2 separate regions of the Homo sapiens genome follow, and region 2 is linked to region 1. Evidence: promoter capture Hi-C in human tissues and cell types (Jung and others, 2019). All regions are on one chromosome and are shown on one strand. The core of a region is centred on a gene start or on the middle of the fragment in contact, and the rest is flanking DNA. Distances in the headings are between cores, read along the strand shown. Region 1 holds the start of OCM (oncomodulin). Region 2 has its middle 21 kb from the start of RNF216.

What was found. The method cuts DNA at HindIII sites, captures the fragments that hold promoters and counts their contacts. A contact is called where the count stands out against the background at its distance.
Region 2: a contact is called between a fragment that was not itself captured here and the fragment with the promoter of OCM in region 1, in 2 of the 25 tissues and cell types used here (IMR-90 fibroblasts and stomach).

Annotation. Positions count from the first base shown.
Region 1 is chr7:5,879,548-5,884,965 of GRCh38, reverse strand. It overlaps OCM (oncomodulin), which reads right to left and starts at 4,168. Exons shown (of 4, transcript NM_001097622.2): 1 at 4,016-4,168; 2 at 2,341-2,473; 3 at 967-1,076. The coding sequence starts at 4,076. The HindIII fragment of the contact is 18,194 bases long and covers 1,067-5,418 here.
Region 2 is chr7:5,800,378-5,805,795 of GRCh38, reverse strand. No RefSeq gene overlaps it. Among named protein-coding and RNA genes, the nearest start is that of RNF216, 21 kb to the right of the region's middle. The HindIII fragment of the contact is 3,511 bases long and covers 1,174-4,684 here.

The DNA.
Region 1 (5,418 bases), core at 2,919-5,418:
TATATTTTCAATAGAGATGGGGTTCACCATGTTGGTCAGTCTAGTCTTGAACTCCCGACTTCAGGGGATCTGCCCACCTTGGCCTCCAAAATTGCTGGGATTATAGGCCTGAGCCACCACGCCCAGCCCCTGGTTATGTTTAAATAAGGCAATCCCCCCTTACCTAATCTGTTTTTATGAGCTATCTATCTGCATTAACTCCCATGTAGTAAGCGATAGTGGTATAATTTTGAACAGGTTTTTTTTTTTTTAATAAGCATCTAACGTAGCAGTTTTAAATTTCAAATTAGCACCACCAGAAGGACCATCATATGTTCTGCTGAGTTGGCAGGCACAAAGCAGTTAAAAAGCACGCTAGCAACATGACAAAATCAAGTGAAAATAGTCCTACAGCTGTGCTAGTGTATTCTAAAGCTCAAACCTAGGATTCGGCCTATGGAAGACTCAATAAATGAGGTTGGCTTATTTGTTCTCTGTTTAATATTATCCCCTTGGCGGGCTAATGTCCAATAAAATATATTTGTCTAAACCCTTGAAGACGAAGAGGGCTTCCTACGCATGCCAATGGACCCTGGTCTGAGGATGTAAATCTTTCCCTTATTCTGAGGGGTTCAAACCCCACTGGTAGAAATACCTCGCGCTTTATGCAGGTGCATTATGGTTGGCAGGTGCAAATAATTGGCCAGGTGGCTAGCTAGTCCCCTAGTCAGGTGAAGGATATTTTGCAGCTCATAGACAATGACCAGTGTGACCAGCTTCTATAGTACCTACCGAGCATTATGCCAGGGTTTTTACACACATCATTTGCATCCTTACTTTAGTCCCATTTTACAGATGAGAAGACTGAGGCTCGGTAAGTTTAAGAAAGGGAGATTTTAAGCCACATTGGTTTGATCTCACAGCCCAAGCCCTCACGGATGCTTCCTGAGCTAGAGTGTTTTATGCTACGTACACGTGTGGACATACCCTCTGCTCCAATTTTCCCATCTCCATCATTATCCGCCGCAGCCATCAAGGACTTGGTTTCTGACTCGGTCAGTTCTCTGGCACCACTCTCAAACTTCTGGAGGAAAAACCTACAGGATAATAAAGATCCATGGGGATTTTCAAAAAGATCATGCATCTCTGTGTTTACACTTTTGTTTTTCCTCTAAGCATATCACCTGTTTCCAGCACCGGCAATAATTAACCAAGGTCTTAGCAAGCAAAGGTTTCCTTAAGCTGTAGAAACCAATGGTGGGCACTTCATTTTTAAGGTTTTGTTTGTTTGTTTGTTTTTGAGACAGGGTCTTGCTCTGTCACCCAGGCTGGAATGCAGTGATACCATCATGGCTCACTGCAGCCTCGACTTCCTGGGCTCAATCAATCCTCCTGCCTCAACCTCCTGAGTAGCTGGGACTACAGGTGCACCCCACCATGCCCCACTAACATTTGTATTTTTTTTTGTAGAGACAAGGTTTTGTCATGTTCCCCAGACTGGTCTGGAACCCCTGGGCTCACTCAAGCAATCCACCCACCTCAGCCTCCCAAAGGGCTGGGATTGTAGGTGTGAGCCACAGTGCCTGGCCCATTTTTAAGTTTTTAGTGTTTTTAATTTTTATTTATTTATTTATTTGAGACAGAGTCTCTCTCTGTCACCCAGGCTGGAGTGCAGCTGCACGATCTGGGCTCACTGCAACCTCTGCCTCCTGACTTCAAGCAATTCTTGTGCTTCAGTCTTCTGAGTAGCTGGAATTACAGGCGTGAGCCACTGCGCTTAGCCAAGTTTTTAGTTTTTTAAAGTCCATTTGCCAAAGGAAATCCCTTACATGAAAGAATCTTTGTGGCTGGGCACAGTGACTCACACCTGTAATCCCAGCACTTTGGGAGGCCAAGGCAGGAGGATCACTTGAAGTCAGGAGTTTGAGACCAGCCTGGCAACATAGTGAAGCCCCATCTCTACTCTAAATATGAAAATGAGCTGGATGTGGTGGCAGGCACCTGTAATCCCAGCCACTTGGGAGACTGAGGCATGAGAATCACTTGAATTTGGAAGGCGGAGGCTGCAGGGAGCTGAGATCACCCCACTGCACTCCAGCCTGGGCAACAGAGTGAGGCCCTGTCTCAAAAAAAAAAAAAAAAAAAAGAATCTTTGCACCTGCAGTCTTCTCTGCCCATATTGAGGGCTTTGCATGGGTAGATGTGCGGTCAACTGACTCATGTCCTTTGCTTTAATGATGCTTGGCCGAATGACCAACACCAAGGCTGGCCATTGAAGAAATACTGAGCAACCTGGCCCCCACTGCACCCCAGGCCCACTCAGCAGTGCCGGGTACCAGACAGACTCAGGACAAAGCTTACTTAAGCTCTTCTTCATCCAGGTACCCGCTCTGGTCGTTGTCTATGAACCGGAAAACATCCTTCACCTGATTGGCTGACATCTTGGAGAGGCCTGATGTCTGGAAGAATTTTTGGGGTTCAAAAGTGTCTGGGTCTGAAGAACAGAGAATTGGTTATTCTGACGCTTGTTGGATCACATTCTATGTTGGGGCCAAGGTACTAAAAACACAGATAATTAAAAACACTTCAACAATATCCCTGAGCTACGGGGATGCTCAACTGGTCCAAGATTTTGGGACAGCCAAGACTTGATGGCTCTGTGATGGCATCCCATGTCCCCTCCGCCCCAGTCTTCCCTCCTCCACTTGGTTTTGTCCATTTTCCTTTTCCCTCCTCATCTCTTCTGTGCCTCCCCCTCCCCCTGGCCCACTTTACAGGCTGTGTGGCTGAGCCCCCAGCATCCCTGGTCTAATTGGTAGGGGGAAATGCAATCACTGGATTTCAACAGGCTAAATGGCCTTTGGCGCTTTTTTTTTTTTTTTTTTTTTTTTTTTTTTTTTTGAGACAGAGTCTCACTCTGTCACCAGGCTGGAGTGCAGTGGCGTGATCTCGGCTCACTGCAACCTCTGCCTCCCGGGTTCAACTGATTCTCCTGCTTCAGCCTCCCAAGTAGCTGAGATTACAGGTGTGCACCCCCATGCCCAGCTCATTTTTGTATTTTTAATAGAGACAGGGTTTTGCCATGCTGGCCAGGTTGGTCTTGAACTCCTGACCTCAAGTGATGCACCGGCCTCGGCCTCCCAAAGTGTTGGGATTACAGGTGTGAGCACGACACCTGGCCTTTCAGTGATGTCTTGCTTTCATGTTTAGTAGGTTTCTTTTGTCTTACAGATGTGTAATCGTGTGCTCAGATCCCAGATCTCTATAATTTTAGTTATCTAATAAATAGCAGTTTTCTTCTCTGATTCCATGAATTTTCCAGCCAACCTCTTATTTATTTATTTATTTATTTATTTAGAGCCAGAGTCTCACTCTGTCGTCCAAGCTGGAGTGCAGTGTAGCGATCATAGCTCACCACAGCCTCAACCTCCTGGGCTTCAGTGATCCTCCTACCTTAGTTTCCAGAGTAGCTGGGACCACAGGCACATGCCACCATGCCCCGCTAGTTTTTATTTTTATTGTTATGTTGTAGAGATGGAGTCTTCCTATGTTGCCCAGGCTGGTCTCAAACTCCTGGGCTCAAACAGTCCTCTCACCTTGGCCTCCAAAAAGTGTTGGGATTACAGATGTGAGCCACCATGCCTGGTCTACTTTTTTTTTTTTTTTTTGTAGACAGAGTCTTGCTCTGTTGCCCAGGCTGGAGTGCAGTGGCATGATCTCAGCTCACTGCAACTTCTGCCTCCCGGGTTCAAGCAATTCTCTGCCTCAGCCTCCCGAGTAGCTGGGATTACAGGCACCCACCACCACGCCCGGTTAATTTTTTTGTATTTTTAGTAGAGATGGGGTTTCACCATCTTGGCCAGGCTGGTCTCGAACTCCTGACCTCGTGATCCACCCGCCTCGGCCTCCCAAAGTGCTGGGATTACAGGTGTGAGCCACTGCGTCTGGCCGCCTGGCCTACATTTTGATTTTGTGTTGACTCGCTGGAGGTGCAAAGCTGTGAGGAAATCCCACCCCCGCCTCACGTCCCCTCTACCTCGGCATTCCTGGAGCGCTGCTGCAATGTCGTCAGCACTGAGCACGTCCGTGATGCTCATTTTCTACCTACTCACACAGAATAAATGAGAGGCGATAAGCCACAAACAGGAATGTGCACATCCAGGGGAAACACATCTTCCCAGGCCCACTGAAACTGTATGTGTGTCTAGATTATTTTTTTTTTTAAATTAAGACGGAGTCTCACTCTGTCACCCAGGCTGGAGTGCAAGAGCGTGATCTCGGCTCACCGCAACCTCCGCCTCCTGGGCTCAAGTGATTCTCCTGCCTAAGCCTTCCCAGTAGCTGGGATTACAGGTGCGCACTACCATGCCTGGCTAATTTTTGTGTTTTTAGTAGAGACGGGGTTTTGCCATGTTGGCCAGGCTGGTCTTGAGCTCCTGACCTCAGGTGATCTGCCTGCCTTGGCCTCACAAAGTGCTGGGATGACAGATGCAAGCCACCGAGCCAGGCCTGTCTAGAATTTTTAAAATGTGATAAGCATGGTTTTGTATTAAGTGACGGGACAGAATATCCAAATTAAAACCAGATACGGAAAACACCCCAGCCTTTTTTGTCTCAGAGCCTTCTTTTGAATACATGCCAAAAATGGAAAAAAAAAATGACCCAAAGAAGGATTCAATTGTTTTCTTATAAAAATTATACTGACATAATCAGTCATTTGCATAGGCAGCCGTAAACCATGTTACACATGCACTGGCATTTTCCTACAGCAGCCCGAGAGATGCAATGTTGCAAATTCCACGTGGGAAAGGATACAGTTTGGGCTGCTTGCAGACATTCTGTGGAAGAAGGCATGCACCTGTCCTGAAAGGTGGGAAGCAGATGGATGAAAAGCCCATCTCCCAGAGATTAAAATCCTTCCAGGTGTCAGAGCCACCGGAAAACAGGAGTCTAAGCACCTGAGCCTAATATGAATGCATGCAGTGAAGAAAAGAGTCTGGGGTCTGATGTGTCCACCAGTTACTCACCGTTTTCGGTTTCCCCCCAGGAAGAATCAGGAAAAAGAGTTGAAGGAGCAAAACAACAGATGTGTTTTTGCTACCTTACTGACCTACCTTATATAGGCTAGAAAAAGTGATAGTTACAACCTCTTAGATTTCCTTTTCAAGGATCAAGTGGATGCAGCTCAAATGTCTTGTCTTACTCATGAAACCTCTTTTTTTTTTTTTTTCTATTTATGTCTCAAGGGAATGTGGGTGGGAACAGCCAATTGTAAAAAAAAAAAAAAAACAACAACAAACTTCAACAAACCTTAACTAAGATTTCAATTCTGCAAACGAACCCTGTTGGCAAAGTGTGGAGAAGGTTCTAGATGCCTGGTAAGGTGGAGATGGTGGCCTGAACTAAGACAAACACATACAGGGTGCTCTGTAAGCTGAA
Region 2 (5,418 bases), core at 1,680-4,179, 78 kb after region 1:
TTCAACCAGGGAGGTGGAAGTTGCAGTGAGCTGAGATTGCACCATCGTACTCCAGCCAGGGCAACGAATGAAATTCTGTCTCAAAAAAAAAAAAAAAAGGGTGGAATGGCACAGAGAAATTGATAAAGTATGATGGTACTTCAAGACTTACTGTAAAGCTACGGTAATCAGGACAGTGTGATATTAGTGAAAAAATAGATAAATAGATCAATGAGCCAGGTGCAGTGTCTCACGCCTGTAATCCCAGCACTTTGGGAGGCCAAGGCAGGTGGTTCACTTAAGGTCAGGAGAATGAGACCACCCTGGACAACATGGCGAAACACTGTCTCTTAAAAAACAAAATAGATCAATTGAATAGAACAGAGATCTCAGAAACAGACCCACATAAATAGAGTCAAATGACCTTTGACAGAAGAGCAAAGGCAATACAATGAGCAAAGACAAAGACGGTCTTTTTAACAAATGTTGCTGAACAACTGGATGGACATCCACATGCAAACAACTGAGTCCAGACTCTGACCTTACACACTTCACAGAATTAATTCAGATGGATCAGAGACCTAAATGTAAAGTTCAAAACCATAAAACTTTTAGAAGGTAACACAGGAGAAAATCTAGATAACTTCAGGTTTGGCAATGACTTTTTAGATACAACGCCAAAGGTGGGATTCATGAAAGAAAGAATTGGGCTGCACGCAGTGGCTCACGCCTGTCATCCGAGCACTTTGGGAGGCTGAGGTGGACAGATAACCAGGGGTCGGGGGTTCGAGACCAGCCTGACCAACAAGGAGAAACCCCATCTCTACTAAAAATACAAAATTAGCCAGGTGTGCCGGAACATGCCTGTAATCCCAGCTACTCGGGAGGCTGAGGCAGAAGAATCGCTTAAACCTGGGAACGGAGGTTGCAGTGAGCGGAGATAGTGCCATTGCACTCCAGCCTGGGAAATGAGTGAAATTCCATCTCAAAAAAAAAAAAAAAAAAAAAAAAAAAAGAATTGCTAAGTTGGACTTCATTGAATTAAAAAATTTCTTCTTTCTGAAAGATGTTGTCAAGAGAATGAAAAGACAAGCCACAGACTGGGAGAAAATATTTGCTAAAGACATAGCTGATAAAGAAGGACTGTTAACCAAAATATACAAAGAACTCTTAAAACTCAACAACAGGAAAACAACCTGATTTTTAAATGGGCCAAAAAACCTTAAGAGACATCTTTCCAAAGATACACAGGTGGCAAACATGCATATGAGAAGATGCTTCATTTCGTATGTCATTGGGAAAATGCAAATTAAAACAATGATATCACTACAAACCTATTAGGATGACAAAAATCCAGAACATGGCAGGGCATGGTGGCTCATGCCTGTAATCCCAGCACTTTGGGAGGCCGAGGCGGACGGATCACCTGAGGTCAGGAGTTTGAGACCAGCCTGGCCAACATGGTGAAACCCCATCTCTACTAAACATACAAAAATTAGCTGGGCATGGTGGCAGGCGCCTGTAATCCCACTACTTGGGAGGCTGAGGCAGGAGAATTGCTTGAATCCGGAAGGCAGAGGTTGCAGTGAGCCGAGATCGCGCCATTGCACTCCAGCCTGGGGGATAAGAGTGAGACTTCGTCTCAAAAAAAAAAAAAATCCAGGACACTTGGCTGGGCGTGGTGACGCATACCCATAGTCCCAGCTCCTCAGAAGGCTGAGGCGGGAGGATCAATTGAGCCCAGGACGTTAGGGCTGCAGTGAGCTATGATGGCACCACTGCTCTCCAGCCTGGGTGACAGAGCGAGACTGTCTCAGTGGAAAAAAAAAATTAATGCTGTATGATTCCAACTATATTACATTCAGAAAAGGCCCAACTATGGAGACAGTAAAAGGATCCGTTGCTAGGGTCTGGAAACAAAAGGTTGCCAGGGACAACCTTTTGTCCCTGGGACGGATGCATGAAGGGAGGGATGCATGAAGAGGCAGAGCACGGAGGATTTTTCGGGCAGGGAAACGCCTCTGAGAGAGCTCTAAGAGTGGATGCATGTTCTGACACATTTATCCAAGCCCATGACATGCACCACACCAAGAGGGACCCTAATGCAAACTGTGGACTTTGGGTGAAAATGATGTCAATATAGGTTCCCTGATTGTAACAAATGTACCACTTTGGTGGAAGATGATAATGGGAGAGGCTATTAGCACGGGCAGGGAACATGTGAGAACTCTCTGTACCTTTCGCTCAATGTTGCTACGAATCTAAAACTGGCCTAAAAAAGTCAAGTCTATTAAAAAAAAAAAGACGCAGTGAGCATTGGGAAGAAAGGGACAGAGCACATGCCTTCCTCATGGAAATCATGCAAACATATATTAAAAAAAAAAGACACAGTGAGCATTGGGAAGAAAGGGACAGAGCACATGCCTTCCTCATGGAAATCATGCAAACATATATTAAAAAAAAAAAGACACAGTGAGCATTGGGAAGAAAGGGACAGAGCACATGCCTTCCTCATGGAAATCATGCAAACATATATTAAAAAAAAAAAGACGCAGTGAGCATTGGGAAGAAAGGGACAGAGCACATGCCTTCCTCATGGAAATCATGCAAACATATCTTCTGAAGAAGACCCCCCCTTTTTTTTTTTTTTTTTTGAGATGGAGTTTTGCTCTTTCACCCAGACTGGAGTGCAGTGGCATCATCTTGACTCACTGCAACCTTCAACCCCCAGGTTCAAGCTATTCTCCAGCCTCAGCCTCCCGAGTAGATGGGGTTATAGGCGCCCACCACTACGCCTGGCTAATTTTGATATTTTTTAGTAGAGACAGGGTTTCGCCACATTGGTCAGGCTGTTCTTGAACTCCTGACCTCAGGTGATCCCACCTGCCTCAGCCTCCCAAAGTGCTGGGATTACAAGCGTGAGCCACCGCAGCTGGCCAGACCCTACTTTTGAGTGGGGTCTTCTGCAGATGAGCCTGAGAAGGCCAGCAGGATTAGGTGACAAGGAAGAAGAGAGATCTTTGCATCTTCAGATGTAGGGGAGCACCGCCCATGGCAAATCTGAACATCAGCAGCTCCGGGCACCATAAAGTGGGCACAGGAAGATCAAAAGAGACTGAAGAATCTTTTTTTTTTTTTTTTTGAGATGGAGTCTAGTTCTGTCGCCCGGGCTGGAATAGAGTGACATGCTCTCAGCTCACTGCAACCTCCACCTCCCGAGTTCAAGCAATTCTCCTGTCTCAGCCTCCTGAACAGCTGGGATTACAGGCATGCATCACCACACCGGCTAATTTCTGTATTTTTAGTAGAGATGGGGTTTCACAATGTTGGCCAGGTTGGTCTCAAACTCCTGGCCTCAAGTGATCAGCCTGCCACAGCCTCCCAGAGTGCTGGGATTACAAGCTTGAGCGACCATGCCCAGCCCAAAAGAGGCTGAAGAATCTTAACTTCTAAATTTTATTGATTTAATTACTGTTTGAGTCAGGGTCTCACTCTGTCTCCCAGGCTAGAGTGCAGTGGTGCAATCATAGCTCACTGTAGCCTCCAACTCCTGACCTCAATCAATCCTCCTGCCTTAGCCTCCCAAAGTGCTGCACTTACAAGTGTGAACCACTGTGCCCAGCCCTTAATTTTTTAAAAAAGCTTATAAATCTCAGAAAATATTTCTTTCCGGCCAGGCGTGGTGGCTCACACTTGTAAGCCCAGTACTTTGGGAGGTGGAGGCGGGCGGATCACCAGAGGTCAGGAGTTCAAGACCGGCCTGGCCAACATGGCAAAACCCCGTCTCTACTAAAAACATACAAAAAAATTAGCCGGGCATGGTGGTGGGCACCTGTAATCCCAGCTACCTGGGAGGCTGAGGCACGAGAATCGCTTGAACCCGGGAGGCAGAGGTTGCAGTGAGCCAAGATCGCATCATTGCACTCCAGCCTGGGCAACAAGAGCGAAACTCCATCTCCAAAAAAAAAAAAAAAAAGGAAATTATTTATTTCCAACAGGAGAGAGCCTAGCACTTATAGCAAAGTGTTGAGCATGGATTCGATTACATAGCATTGGATCATGGCGGGTAACTACAAGAGAAGCAACTACAGGGTTGTGAGGGGATGAAAGAGCCAGAAGGAACCGATCTCAAGATGCGTATGAGAGCCTTAATCCACCGGGCACGGTGACTCATGGCTGTAATCCCAGTACTTTGGGTGGCTGCGGCAGACAGCTCACCTGAGGTCAGGAGTTCAAGATCAGCATGGCCAACATGGTAAAACCCCATCTCTACTAAAAACTACGTTGGGAGGCCAAAGCAGGCGGATCACAAGGTCACGAAATCAAGACCATCCTGGCCAACATGGTGAAACCCCATCTCTACTAAAAATACAAAAATTAGCTGGGCGTGGTAGCACACACTGTAGTCCCAGCTACTTGGGAGGCTAAGGAGGGAGAATCACTTGAACCCGGGAGGTGGAGGTTGCACTGAGCCGAGACGGCGCCACTGCACTCCAGCCTGGCAAAAAAACTACTCTATCTCAAAAACAAAACAAAACAAAACTACAAAAATTAGCTGGGCGTGGTGGCATGCACCTGTAATCCCAGCTACTCAGGAGGCTGAGGCAGGAGAATCGCTTGACCCCAGGAGCCGGAGGTTGCCGTGAGCTGAGATCACGCCACTACACTCCAGCCTGAGCAACAAGAGCGAAACTCTGTCTCCAAAAAAAAAAAAAAAAAAAAAAAAAAAGGAGCTTAAAACCAATAGCCAAGGGAGTTACAGTCACCAGATATTTAGTTCTCTATAGAAATTAAAGATAACATCTTGGGCCTGGTACGGTGGCACACACCTGTATCTCCATCACTTTAGGAGGCCGAGGCGAGCGGACCGCTTGAGCTCAGGGGTTTGAGACCAGCCTGGAAAACATAGCAAGACCCCTGCCTGCACTAAAAATACAAAAAATTAGCCAGGCGTGGTGGCACATGCATGTGGTCTCAGCTACTCGGGAGGCTGAAGTGGGACAATCACCTGAGTCCAGGAAGTGGAGGCTGCAGTGGGCAGATTGTGCCACTGCACTCCAGCAGCTGGGAGAAGAGAGTGAGACCCCATCCCCCAAAAAAAAAAAAAAAAAATCAATGAGAGGAAACAAGGACCGACTTTCATGGGGTCCAGATGCCTGGCACAGTGAGGCCAACCACCCACACCAAGGTTTGCAGTGAGAAAAAAGAGGGCATTTATTTGCAGGGCGCCACGCAAGGAGAGTCGAGCAGCTCATGTTTACATCCAGAACTCCCTGCTGGCTTGCAGGTAGGCGTCTTTAAAGGTAAGGAGGCAGAGGCAGGGCGCAGTGGCTCACGCCTGTAATCCCAGCACTCGAGGCGGGTGGATCACAAGGTCAGGAGATCAAGACCACAGTGAAACCCCGTATCTACTTAAAAAAAAAAAAAATACAAAAAATT